Regions from separate parts of the Homo sapiens genome. Here all the other regions are linked to region 1. The links are contacts of gene promoters, found by promoter capture Hi-C in blood cells and fetal thymus (Javierre and others, 2016). All regions are on one chromosome and are shown on one strand. Each heading gives the region's core, a stretch centred on a gene start or on the middle of the fragment in contact. The rest is flanking DNA. Distances are from core to core; before and after follow the strand shown. Region 1 holds the start of PSMD6-AS1 (PSMD6 antisense RNA 1). Region 2 has its middle 2.2 kb from the start of RPP14. Region 3 holds the start of ARL6IP5 (ARF like GTPase 6 interacting protein 5). Region 4 overlaps SLMAP (sarcolemma associated protein).

The links. Contacts are between HindIII fragments. The CHiCAGO score rates a contact against its expected background, and 5 or more counts as called.
Region 2: a fragment that was not itself captured here is called in contact with the fragment with the promoter of PSMD6-AS1 in region 1 in 1 of 17 cell types (total CD4 T cells); the score reaches 7.8 in total CD4 T cells.
Region 3: a contact is called between the fragment with the promoter of ARL6IP5 here and the fragment with the promoter of PSMD6-AS1 in region 1, in 3 of 17 cell types (naive CD8 T cells, total B cells and total CD4 T cells). The highest score is 11.9, in naive CD8 T cells.
Region 4: a contact is called between a fragment that was not itself captured here and the fragment with the promoter of PSMD6-AS1 in region 1, in 1 of 17 cell types (total CD8 T cells). The highest score is 6.1, in total CD8 T cells.

Annotation. Positions count from the first base shown.
Region 1 is chr3:64,010,594-64,013,768 of GRCh38, forward strand. It overlaps PSMD6-AS1 (PSMD6 antisense RNA 1), which reads left to right and starts at 1,371. Exons shown (of 2, transcript NR_189168.1): 1 at 1,371-1,449. It overlaps PSMD6 (proteasome 26S subunit, non-ATPase 6), which reads right to left. Exons shown (of 8, transcript NM_014814.3): 6 at 2,846-3,014; 7 at 285-362; 8 at 1-171. The coding sequence ends at 75. It overlaps PSMD6-AS2 (PSMD6 antisense RNA 2), which reads left to right. Exons shown (of 3, transcript NR_038286.1): 3 at 1,204-1,650. The HindIII fragment of the contact is 1,623 bases long and covers 475-2,097 here.
Region 2 is chr3:58,302,295-58,305,817 of GRCh38, forward strand. No RefSeq gene overlaps it. Among named protein-coding and RNA genes, the nearest start is that of RPP14, 2.2 kb to the right of the region's middle. The HindIII fragment of the contact is 151 bases long and covers 1,921-2,071 here.
Region 3 is chr3:69,083,016-69,086,186 of GRCh38, forward strand. It overlaps ARL6IP5 (ARF like GTPase 6 interacting protein 5), which reads left to right and starts at 1,922. Exons shown (of 3, transcript NM_006407.4): 1 at 1,922-2,208. The coding sequence starts at 2,033. RefSeq lists enhancers at 1-85, 1,693-2,002. The HindIII fragment of the contact is 15,418 bases long and covers 1,076-3,171 here.
Region 4 is chr3:57,758,231-57,761,755 of GRCh38, forward strand. All of the region lies in intron 2 of SLMAP (sarcolemma associated protein), which reads left to right. Among named protein-coding and RNA genes, the nearest start is that of SLMAP, 3.7 kb to the left of the region's middle. The HindIII fragment of the contact is 8,010 bases long and covers 1-3,525 here.

The sequences.
Region 1 (3,175 bases), core at 121-2,620:
GGCACATTGTGAAGTAAGCTATAAAAATTCCAAATAATTATCTCTAAAGCAAATCCTTTGTTAGTTACATGGCTTTACATATTAATTACTCTGGAAAGTTTTTGAACTCTGTTTAGTAGCAGATCTCCTTTCTTGATAGTTTCTTGGTACTGCCAGTTCTTGCTATCAGGTCTATAAATAAATTCAAGAAAAAATGAATTATTTACCAGTCACATTATTCCATGACAATAGTTGACCTACTTTTAAAATTTAGGAATGCCCCTTATTCTGAGAAATGAGAGTACCTGTTGGTTTCTACTATTTCATTCACTTTATCTATTTTGCAGTGTAGTCTCCCGGCAGCAATAAACCTGGACAGTTCCCTAATTTAGAGACAAAAAATAACAGAATTAGCTTTATAGAAAATTCTTAGAAAAATGCAAACGGCATTAAAATACTGTCTTAAATTTGTAACAAACATTTAGCTTCCCTTCAAGCTTGTTATTGCACATGCAGTAGTTGACGTTGTCCCTCCTATACTGCAGGCTTTAAGTCATCATCTACTAGAATAAACATGATCCTAGAAGTTCATATTCAGATAGATAGAAAGTAGATCAAACAATGAAACCATATGTACTCAGAGAAAAACTGTAGGTTAGGAAAAATTAGGGACCAAAACTGATAAAAACAGTAAACTGTTTCAAACAAAAGACCTAAAACAAAATTATGGAACACAGCCCATCAGTAAACATGTCAACAGCAATAGTATTAACATGTCAACAGCAATAGTATTTACTAAAACAACGACCCTTTCCCTCTCTAACATATCTTAGTCTAAACAAGTGGAAGGGAAGGGGAGAAATGATGTAGAATTATTGCTTTGCCCATTTTAAAAAAGGGGATTTCATCTAAAATGTAACTTTTTAAGGGAGAAAAAAAGAATAAAGAATCCATGACAACCCAGATTTGAAATTCTTAGGTATCACAGAAATTTAAAACAAGGCCTTTTTAGGTAACAACAACTAGAGCTCAGTGGTACAACCTTTGCCTCTCAAGCTGGTCTTAGAACATGAAGGGAAAAAAAAAAAACTGAACAAATACTACCTGAATTCAACTACTACCTGAAAGGTACCAGCTGCCTTGCATTCACTTGTCATCAAGATGACTTAAGGAATACTGCGGTGTGTGCCCCTAACTAATGAAGGCTTTATCTCCACATTACAGTTACGATACTGAAGAGACGTAACCTGACCAAGGCCACAGAGCTGGAAAAAGAAGCAAAGCCAAGCCGTTTTTCTCATGCACTGCTCACAACAAGCCCCTCCTTCCACTGACTCATGAAAAACACACTCATAATGCCCAGCCCGCACCCTAATGAACAGCCCTCTTAAGAGTGGTCATCAGACTTCAATTTCACAGACTAGAATTGAGAAATGGAACAAAACCTTGGGATACCAGCCTTCCATTTTGGTAGGGATCATTTAAAAAATGGTAGGGATCATTTAAAAAATGTGTTGGTGTCTGAAACTTACTTTGAAGTGGTTAAAAAACATAAAATGTATAGATTGTAACAAGCAAATATGTTAAAATGTACTGTACAATTCTTTCTTTACAATTTTATGGATGTTCGAAATTTAAAAAATACTAGAAAGAGAATGGTCTTATTTAAAAGAAATGCATCTTCATTTAAAGTTTCCACTGCAGACCATTGAAAACACCATCATCAACATTTAAAAACACCTACATGTGGGAGCCACTGATCTAGATGCCATCTGGACATCCCATATTGAGTATGTCTCCTACCCAACTCTACTCTCACCACCCTCGTCCACGCCACGGTAACATCTCCTCTAAGAGCTACTAAACAGCACAACTGGTCCTCTCTGCCACCTTACTCTATTTCTTATATAAAGACACTGCATAGGACCATGTAACTTGGGCTCTAAATCTTCCAATGGCTCCCTATCAAACTTACTTAAAACTCAAGCTCCATCCCATGACCTACAAGGCCCTACACAAATCATTACCTACCTAACTCTCCATATATTATCCTCAAAATCTCCTACCACTCCAACTATGCTGGAGCCACCCTGACATTTTCTGTTCCTACAACATCCAAGCTTATTCCTGGCTCAAAGCCTTAGCCTTTTCTATTCCCTTTTCTGCACGCAGAAGGACTCCATATGGCTGACTCCTCTCAATTCAAATCTCAGAGCAAACCTCACCTCCTTAAGCATGCCGTACGTAAGGATAGCATTTTCTCATCTCCATAGGTTCATTTCTATATGTGAAATTACGTTTTATATTTATTTGCTTCCTTGCCATCTCTTCCCTACTACTACAATGAAAGTGTGAAAAGGGAGCTGTAAAACAATACCAAACATATAGTAATGAATGGCTCATTAAGTATTTATTTGTTTAATCACTGATGCAAGTACTAAAAGTCCCACATTTAACAACCAATCTGACCAGAATTGCAGCAGCAACCTAAAAACTGGAAGGAATTATCAGAGGGAATATGACCAACTGTAAATATCAGATCTAAGAGTCATTACCGTAGCTGCAGTGTGGTCTACAAAGAAGTAACAGAAGACAACTTTTGATAACAACTGGTCTAATGACCTTTAACAAATCACTTAGCCTCACTACAACTCATCTTCCCATCTGTTAATGCAAGGGGCAGACATGACATGAGGAAGGCAGAGGCAACAGGATACGAATGTTTTGATAATACTGAGGAAAAAAACCTCTCCCCTCCCCGTTAAGATTGAGGGAACCAATGTAAACAAGTAAAAAATTGTACAAGTTCACATATTTTAAAAGGCAACTTTAAAACTTCAATTAACATGGCATTATTCAAACTTACTGATCAATGAATTCCACACCAACACCAAACGCTTCTGCCATATAGCCAAGGGTTAATGACCTATATGATTCCAGCAGCTGACTGTATGCATGAATTCTCATTTCTCTTACATAGTATCGATAATGAGGGGCAAAAAGCCAGTCCTTTTTCATTTCCTGTTCCACAACCGCTGCAATGAATAAAATGACAAATTATAATAGACTCTCCGTTTCAGATAAAAAGATTAAAAACTAAAGCAACACTACTAGTTGAGTCCAACAGATAGATGAACAAGTATCAAATTTCTCACTGCCCTTCCACATCATGTCATCAACAATGGCAGCAACAGCA
Region 2 (3,523 bases), core at 746-3,245, 5.7 Mb before region 1:
AGAAACAATGGCTACAGTTCCATAGGTTTTAACTTCTGATCATTTTCACTTCCTTTGTCCTATCTCCACAATCTGCTGACATAGGGGGTGTTTTCCATTAAATCAATGGAGAACAGGGGGACTGGAATCTCACTTGGACCCTTCTCTCTTGCCTTTTCTTCCCCAAGTTGAGAAAGCTCCTCAGCTTTAGAAAAATCCATTTGGCACCAATAAGTAAGGCAGGGAGGGGAGCCACACAGCAGAGGGGAAGTGTGGACTTAACTCATTCTTGGCTGCCGTACCTTTCAGGGACATAAAATAGAGACCGACCCCAACAACTTTGCTCTGAAACACAGAGGGTACCTGAAATGGTCCTCTTAAGAACTAACTGGCTCCACCCAATGCAGTACAGGGTAACTTTCATAAAGACTGAGGCAGCTAACCTGGGCAACATAGCAAGATCCCCTCTCTAAAAATAAAAATCAAAAAAATTAGCCAGGTGTGGTGACACATGCCTGTAGTCCCAGCTCCTCTGGAGGCTGAGGCAGGAGGATCACTTGAGCCCAGGAGTTTGAGGCTGCAGTGACCTATGTTTGCACCACTGTACTCCAGCCTGGACCACAGAGTAAGACCCTGTCTCCAAAAAAAAAAAGAAAAAAAGACTGAGGCAGCCTTGTGTGTTTTGATTTGGAGCAATTTTAGATACATCGTCAAGAGGTAAAAGCCCCCATATCATATTTTTCAGGGGACACTTAAGAAACTCATACTAGTTGTTGCTCCTGGAGAGGGGAGAGGCTGACAGGGGAAGAGGTGGAAGGGAGACTCACTTTTTAATATCTATCCCTTTATGTCATTTGAAATGTATGCTGTAAGCCTACAGTACCTATTCAGAAGATAAAATTTAGGCATGGTGCAGTGCCTCACACCTGTAATCCCAGCATTTTGGGAGGCCAACGCAGAAGGATCGCTTGAGCCTAGGAGTTCAAGACCAGCCTGAGCAACATGGTGAGACCCTGTTTCTACAAAAAAATTAAAAATTAGCTGGCCATGGTGGCATGCACCTGTAGTCCCAGCTACTTGGGAGGCTGGGGTGGGAGGATCGGTTGAGCCTGGGAGGTTGAGGCTACAGTGACCCATGATCACATTATTGTACTACAGTCTGGGTGACAGTGAGACACTGTCCAAAAACGATTTTTTAATATAAAATTTAGTTGAAAAACAAAAGTTTTTTTTTGTTTTTTGTTTTGTTTTGTTTGTTGGCAGAGTCTCGCTCTGTCATCTCGGCTAGAGTGCAGTGGCGTGATCTCAGCTTACTGCAACCTCTGCCTCCTGGGTTCAAGCAATTCTCCTGCCTCAGCCTCCCGAGTAGCTGGGATTACAGGTGCGCACCATCACACCCAGCTAATTTTTGTATTTTTAGTAGAGACAGGGTTTCGCCATGTTGGCCAGGCTGGTCTTGAACTCCTGACCTCAGGTGTTCTGCCCACCTCGGCCTCCTAAAGTGCTGGATTACAGGCCTGAGCCACAACACCCAGCCAAAAAACAAGTTTTTTGTCTTTATCATTCAAAGGCATCTCTTTTATCCTCCGCTCTGAATTAATAAGACAGCATGAGAGAATTCAGGCAACTGGGAAGACACTTCATTTTCAGGGTTTGTTGCAGCAGGGTGAAAATTATCTATTGTTCCTTGAAGTTCAAAATACAGGAATTGCTCTGGTTTTCCTGGGCCACCTGGCAGGATACATTTGCCAGGCAGCTGGCTTACAGGAACCCTCTCCCATTACTGAGGGTTTCCTGGGGTGCCAGACACTTTATACCATCAACTCTTTTTCCCTCAACTCTGTGAGGTAGATGCTAATAATCTCTCCATGTGACAGATGAGGGAGGTAGGTAAGTGGCAGAGGATGCATTTGAAGCAAGTTCTGGCAGCTTCTGAAATCAAGCTTTTTTGAGAAAGATAATACTTGGGTCTGTGGGGTCTGTGTTTGCTTTCTCCACCTCTTCCCACATCTGGAACAAGCCCTGTCTCCTCTGAAGGAAGAAGAAAGTAGGAACCACAGAACTGGAGAGCATGGCCAAGGTTGAGGACTGAAGCTTCTGGAAACAACACAGTGGGATTTTGAGAAAATAATTGAGGAAGGAGATCCCCGCTGACTCAACTGTCCTGTGCAAGGCAACCCTTTGCCCCCCAACCCAAGCAAAACCAGCACATCCATTTATGAACAAATGCCTTCAGTAAATAGATGTTGGGTCACCATTGGGTACCAGGAACTGGGATGCAGTGGTGAGAAACACAGACAAGGCCCCATCCTCATGGGGGTTACACTAAAGTTTCCCTTCCCACTGCAGCCCCTCAATTGGTGGTAATACAGTGCAGTATGGAGAGCACTGGCTAGAATCAGACAGCCCATGCCACTGCTTATAACTGTGATCTTGAGCAAATAACTTAGCCTCTCTGTGCCTCAGTTTCTTTTCCTGTTGCCAGGCTAGAGTGCAGTGGTGTGATCTCGGCTTACTGCAACCTCTACCTCCCAGGTTCAAGCAATTCTCCTGCTTCAGCCTCCCGAGTAACTGGGATTACAGGTGTGCACCACCGTGCCCAGCTAATTTTTGTATTTTCAGTAGAGATGGGGGTCTCACCATGCTGGCCAGGCTGGTCTCGAATTCCTGGCCTCAAGTGATCTGCCCGCCTCAGCCTCCCAAAGTGCTGGAATTACAGGCATGAGCCACTGCGCCTGGCCTGTGCCTCAGTTTCTACCTCTAAAATGGTGATGATCATAGTAATAGCCATCTCAGGATTGTGTGAGGGTTCCATGAGATGACATATGTAAAATATTTTGCATAGTGCCTAGCACAAAGTAAGTCTTTACTTTGTGGGTCTTTCCAGGACGGCCTAGATAGAACACCTACTATGTGCTGGGAGTCACAAGGGACACTGAGAGTGGGTCCTATCTTTGGGGAGTGCTTGACATAGGAGATCTTGAGGAGAGGAGATGCTAGATATAATTTTGTAGGCTGGGCGCGGTGGCTCACGTCTGTAATCCCAACACTTTGGGAGGCGAGGTGGGTGGATTGCCTGAAGTCAGGAGTTTGAGACCTGCTTGGCTAACATAGTGAAACCCTGTCTCTACTAAAAATACAAAAATTAGGCCAGGCGCGGTGGCTCACGCCTGTAATCCCAACACTTTGGGAGGCCGAGGTGGACAGATCACGAGGTCAAGAGATTGAGACCATGCTGGCCAACATGGTGAAACCTCGTCTCGACTAAAAATACAAAAATTAGCTGGGCATGGTGGTGCATGCCTGTAGTCCCAGCTACTTGGGAGGCTGAGGCAGAAGAATCACTTGAAGGGAGGCGGAGGGTGCAGTGAGCCAAGATGGCGCCACTGCACTCCAGCCTGGGCGACAGAGCGAGACTCCATCTCAATAAATAAATTATAATATAATGAAAAAAATGTGTAGAATGACTCGGGCGCAGTTGCTCACGTCTGTAATCCCAGCACTTTGGGAGGCCAAGGTGGGCAGATCACTTGAGGCGAGGAGT
Region 3 (3,171 bases), core at 672-3,171, 5.1 Mb after region 1:
TCTGAAGCCCTGGGGAATTCCTCCACACCCTCTGACTTCCTGTAACTGAGCACTGAGGCTCAGTGCATCTCTATTTAGCACTCCTCTTACTGTCTCATATTTAACTAGTGTTTCCACTGGATTGCAGAAGTTTTGAAGGCAGAGCAGGATTACATTTTTCTCCTCTTTAAAAAAAAAAAGAAAAGAAAAGAAAAAAAACCCACAGTGCTTTCACAGAGCCTCAAAAGAACTCGAAATACTTGCTGGCATTGTACTGAATATTCTCAACCTTTTCCCCCTACCCAGATACATCCACAACAATAAAGTTGGAGCAAGGTAGAGAAAAGTTAGTAGATGTTTATAATGAAAGCATAGAAAACAAATCAGATTAAAGCACTATTAATAGCAAACAAGAATCGTGGGCTATCCTATTGCTAATAACAATAATAGTAACATATAACTGTGAACCTTTATTATACACTAAGCATTTCCTATACATTCCTTCACTTAGCCTCGTCTATATGGCAGATGTTCCATTATCCCCACTTTACACATGAAGACACCGAGGCTGGGAGAGATTAAGTAGTTTCTCCAAAGTCACCTGCCAGAGAGGAAGGAGCTGCGACTCTAATTTTGCTTTCTCTGACTTCACACCATCCCATTTTTCCAGAATCAAGAAAACATGAGCACTCAGGAATATTTTCACATTTTAAACTTTATTCAAAAAGCAGCACATAAGATATATCTTAGCACTAATTCCATGCAATCACCAAATTTTCCTAAACAACAGTAGTAGTAGTAATTTCTTAGAGTCGCTGTAAGCTCCTTAACTGTCTTCTGAATTAATAAGGAAAATTAAATTATGTTTTCTAGACTTTGCATTAGTATATTTCATTACTTTCCAAGTTTTCAAAAATTGGTGATCTGAGTAGAGTGAATTCACCTTGTCTAAGCCACTTAGGGGCTTAGAGACTCTGTTATCTTAGAAATCTTCACCTTAGAATTCTACCTATTACATTATACAATTAAACAAACTACTTTTTTTCTCATGCATTGTACCAATCAGCCCCTTAACTGAAAAAAGATGACCCTTGGAAGCTTAGAAGAGAATTGACAACGAATACTTCTTTTGCCAGGTCTTTGGGCTGGGATACAAAACATCACGTTATCTATGAATATATTGTGGTCCCTCAGTGAAAGCTGTCACCAAATATTGCAATAAAACTAAGAAAACTTTTGAAGTGGAATGCATATTTCTGCCCAGAAAATGCTGGATGCAGAACAACTAGTTCACTGCAGACAACTGTTTGCTTTAAAATGTAAGCAACATGCCCAGCTCAGGACTGAAGTGGCCAGAGTGCCTACTTTATCAGAATGGCATAGCAGTCCAACAATTTAGCCTAGAGAGAACAGAGGTGGAGAACAAAGAAGAGAAGTGAAAAAAACAGACCAGCCCTTCTGTTCTACATGACCTTCTTTCCCGTTTTGCCAATCTGATTTCACACATAGTGACTCATGGTGAAACAGAGAAAACATGGGAATTGCATTCAGATGTGTAGAGGTTAGTAAGACTTAGTTTTCAAAAGCAGCTCATTCTCCATTAACACTGTAGTCGCCTTCCATTTCATTTCACTTAGATTGGCATCTGCACAGCTGCCAAAATTTTTCTCTAAGTCAGAGAACACACTCCTAGGTAAACCTTCAAAAAAGGTATTTCGAAGGAGGCAGCTTCTCTGCTGCTAGAGAAGGCATTGCCACCTCCCTTCAGACAGGGGATTTCCGCTAGTTGCTTTCTGTCATTTCGTCTCTATTCTGCACTCAGTCCCTTGTTCTGTCTGGAGGTTCCTGTTTTCCTGTACCCAACCAAGAGCCAATGAAGAAGTAAAGAGGAGCAAACACGCCCGCCCACTCCCAATTTCCTTTGCTCTGCTGTCTGCCAACCGCAAAGCCGACCGAGACGGAGCCGCTGTCAACTCTCCAACTCAGCTCAGCTGATCGGTTGCCGCCGCCGCCGCCGCCAGATTCTGGAGGCGAAGAACGCAAAGCTGAGAACATGGACGTTAATATCGCCCCACTCCGCGCCTGGGACGATTTCTTCCCGGGTTCCGATCGCTTTGCCCGGCCGGACTTCAGGGACATTTCCAAATGGAACAACCGCGTAGTGAGCAACCTGCTCTATTACCAGACCAACTACCTGGTGGTGGCTGCCATGATGATTTCCATTGTGGGGTAAGTGGGGTCCCCCTACCCGGGACACCGATCCGGGGCGAGCACGGAGGGGCCTCGGGGTGCAAGATCCCGGGATGTAGAGACGCTCTCTGACCACGCTCAGCGCCTGCCCTGGCAATTCTGCAAGCGGCCAAGCCAGTGGAAACTTGTTTGCAGGGCGAGGCCGCAGTAACCTGGGGCCCCATTTTCTGCACCAAGGGCTGAGACTTGAGGGGGGCCCTAGGGGAAAGAGGACGGGGAAAATTTGCCAGCCGCAGGGAAGAAAAATGAGAGTTCCCCCACCCCCCTGCCCCCGCCCGCGTGCCAGGATCGGGCTCTTGCTGGAAAGATATTTGTAGCGCCCTCGTCTTTTAAAAATAAGAAGAAAAAGGAAAGTGGTGTAACCCTACCCTGGAGCTGGCTGGGGCGGCAGGGTGTGGACCCGGGCTAGTGTAAAAAGGGCAACCAAGTGGCGACGCACTTTGCTGCTTTCTCTGCCTAATGCCTGCCACACTGTACAGTAAAGCTGAGCTTGGGATCAAAAGGGGGGGTGTCTCCTGGTGGCGCATCTCCCATTGTGGGGTAAAGGCTGCCATGACTGTGGGAAGATGGCCTTCTGGCATTTTCTTCCAGCAGTGGCCAGGCGTGGTCACTTTCTCTGTCTTCGCTTCCTAGCCTGAGGTTTCAATGTATCAGAAGGCCTTTTCAATACCTGATACTTAACAAAGTATCCTGTGTTGAGACTGCATGTACACCTGCTTTCCTAGAAACCACCTTTCCTTCTAGTTCACCCTTTAAGAAATGCTTCTCTCGCTTATGCAGGATGGGTGGTGATATTCTCAATCTTGCTGATTATCTCCTACACATCTTTAAAGAAAAAGCCACCCTCAGACTTTATAAAGGACTCACTTGCACTTAAATGTCTGACATTTCTATTTCAGGGCAGACGTAGAGGGAAGAAGCAGCAAGCTGGCTTGGGAGAAA
Region 4 (3,525 bases), core at 645-3,144, 6.3 Mb before region 1:
ATTATTATCCCGGGGCTCAAGTGTCTTAGTGGTGAAATGTAGTTAACACATAGCTTTAGGTGAGTTCAGATCAGGACCTTTCTAGTAAGGATAATTGCTGATATAAACCTAAGATTTTTGAAAGGTTTGATACATACTTGCCCTTGGAGGAGTAATTTGCAATAATCAAAGCTAATTTAATTAAGCATGAACAACTGTAACTTTATATATTTTCAGAGTTTTTTTTACAAGTTGGAGAACATACACATATTGCGTTTGAAAATCACTTTTTGATGTTCCCTGCAGCACTTATTAAGTACTTAATGCATACTTACAGAGGTGCTATTCAAAAGTTAGTGTTAGGAAATAAACTTACTTTCTGAAATTATACCCTATTCTGTCAATTATAGCATTACTTAAATGTGATACGATGAATTCAGTGCTTTTCATTTTAAGCGTAACCAATTTAGTATTTTTATGTTAGTATCGTAAGTTACTATACATGTATGTGCTTTTATTTTAAGAAGTGAAGAAAGAAATTAAGATCCTTTCCATTTTTAAAAACTGTTTATTTATGTTTGTGGAGAGTATACTAAAGAGCTCATCTTTGTGCCTAAACCTCAGGTTTTTAGCTGAGCTACTGAATCAGTTCCAACTTTAAGTTATGTAAGACTAATAGGACTGTCTCAGGTTTCACCTCCTGACTTTTTGCCCCTCTTTCTGAGTTAAATAATTAAATCTTTCTTAAAGGAAGAACTTAAGTCTTCAAGAATATGTTTTGAAATGAAAGAAACCTGAGCCTCAAAAGGAAGAGAAAAAAATGATACTTCGGCAGCTACTGATTTAAGGAATTATTTTGTAAATTATTTTTTAAAGAAAGGAGGAAAAGATTGTCCAAGTGCTGTGTGCTGCATAATATCTATACTTTACGTGTAGGATGAGAACTGAAGAGTATGTTAACTTTTCTGTTTAACACCAGATCCTCATTTACCTGTGGAACAGACCCTTCACTCGCTCCTCGCAAGCTGAAGTTAGGGTGCCTAAAATACTTCATAGATTACTCGTAATCCTTTTTTTTTTTTTTTGAGACAGATTTTTGCTCCTGTCACCCAGGCTGGAGTGCAGTGGCGCTATCTCAGATCACTGCAACCTCTGCCTCCCGGGTTCAAGTGATTCTCCTGCCTCAGCCTCCAAAGTAGCTGGTATTACAGGCACACGCCACCATGCCTGGTTAATTTTGTATTTTTAGTAGAGACAGGGTTTCACCATGTTGGCCAGGCGGTCTTGAACTCCTGACCTCAGTTGATCCACCTGCCTCAACCTCCCAAAGTGCTGGGATTACAGGCGTGAGCCACTGCACCTGGCCCTCATAATTCTTTAAAATGAATATTCATAGAACTCATTTTTCCAGCAGTTGAATTCAAACATCAGTTTACTACTAAGTAGTGCCTTAACTCAACCAGCTTTTACATTTTCACCATTTTATGTTCTTGGGCAACAGGTCTAAACTAATCAGACAACAGGTTGGCTCACAGTACATACTCTGCGAATGCACTTTCTTTGATGAAACACTCGAAGGGGACTCCCATTTTTTGTTTTACTTATTTGAAAAATACTGATTTCATGCCCAGTGCTTTCCATGGCTGTACTAAAACTCTCACAATAGGTTATTTTGAGATAACTAAGAATAGGTCAGTAGTGACTGTTTCATGAATTGAGATGACATGTTAATATTTGTTTTTTTTCTTTGAGATGGAGTCTCGCTCTGTGGCCAGGCTAGAGTGCAGTGGCGCAACCTCAGCTCACTGCAACGTCTGCCTCCTGGGTTCAAGCGATTCTTGTGTCTTAGCCTCCTGAGTAGCTGGGATCACAGGCGCATGCCACCATGCCCAGCTAATTTTTATATTCTTCGTAGATACTGGGTTTCACCATGTTGGCCAGGGTGGTCTTGAACGCCTGACCTCAAGTGATCCACCCTCCTCGGCCTCCCAAAGTGCTGGAATTACAGGCATAAGCCACCACACCCGGCCATGAAATTAGTTCTTCAGAAAAACTTATCTTTGAATGGTAGATATGGCTTATTTCTACCATTTTCACTTTTTTCCTCCTGCTTTATTAGCTAAAATAACACGCAGGCTATGAGACCACTACTTTAGATATAGATGTAATTATTGATTATTATACCACTTAATCTAGTTATAGCGGATGCTCTGTCAGATCTTACCATGTCATTGAATTGTTTTAGGAATTAACTATTTAAAGTTTTGGTTTGGACAGATAGTAGGTTTTAATTGAGCATCTATTATGTGCCAGACACTGTGAGGGATACAGTTCCAAAGAAAACCCACAGTGCGACCAAATAGTTCTCGTATGAAATTTGCAGTGTCTGTAGTCCCACCTACTCGGGATGCTGAGGCACGAGGGTTGCTTGAGCCCAGGAGTTTGAGGTTGCAGTGCTGTGATTATGCCACTGCACTCCAGCCTGGGTATCAAAGCAAGACCCTGTCTCTTAAAAAAAAAAAAAGAATCCCTTCAGAGAAGGAGTTTCGTTCTTGTTGCCCAGGCTGGAGTGCAATGGCGCGATCTTGGCTCACCACATCCTCTCCCTCCTGGGTTCAAGTGATTCTCCTGCCTCAGCTTCCCGAGTAGCTGGGACTACAGGCATGCGCCACCACGCGTGGCTAATTTTGAGTTTTTAGTAGAGACAGGGTTTCTCCATGTTGGTCAGGCTGGTCTTGAACTCCCAACCTCAGGTGATCCACCCACCTCAGCCTCCCAAAGTGCTGGGATTACAGGCATGAGCCACCGCGCCCGGCCAGGTTTTTTTTTTTTTTTAAACATCTGGGGATGATAATGGTACCTATTATTGTTTTGAGAATTGAGGTAATTATATAAATCACTTAGCACCCTGTCCCTGGCTCTTACTAAGCACCCAATACTCAGCAGAGAGGGTGTTTAGTGGGGAAGAGGGAACTATTTAGACAACACTGTGCAATTTGCTATAGTGCTATGGAGTCTTAGGAAGGTGATGAGAAATTATTTTCTTTAATGTGATGGCATATATAGAATAAATTTTGTTTTTGTTTTTGTTTTTTGTTTTTTTGAGACGGAGTCTGGCTCTGTCACCCAGGCTGGAGTGCAGTGGTGCGATCTCAGCTCACTGCAACCTATACCTTCTGGATTCAAGAGATTCTCCTACCTCAGCTTCTCAAGTAGCTGAGATTACAGGCATTCATCACCATGCCTGGCTAATTTTTGTATTTTTAGTGGAGACAGGGTTTCACCATGTTGGCCAGGCTGGTCTCAAACTCCTGACCTCAGGTGATCCACTTGCCTCGGCCTCCCAAAGTGCTAGGATTACAGGCATGAGCCACTGTGCTTGGCCAGAAGAAATTTTTAAAATTGAAACTGATGTAGTTGATAACTTTGTCTAAATTGGCAGTTTACCTGGGCGGTCGACAATTGGGGTAATATGTGCTTTGGGTGACTTTCACTTTGTGGTGACTGTTGCATTCTGCATTGTCCATTATGGGAGGCTCATTAAAA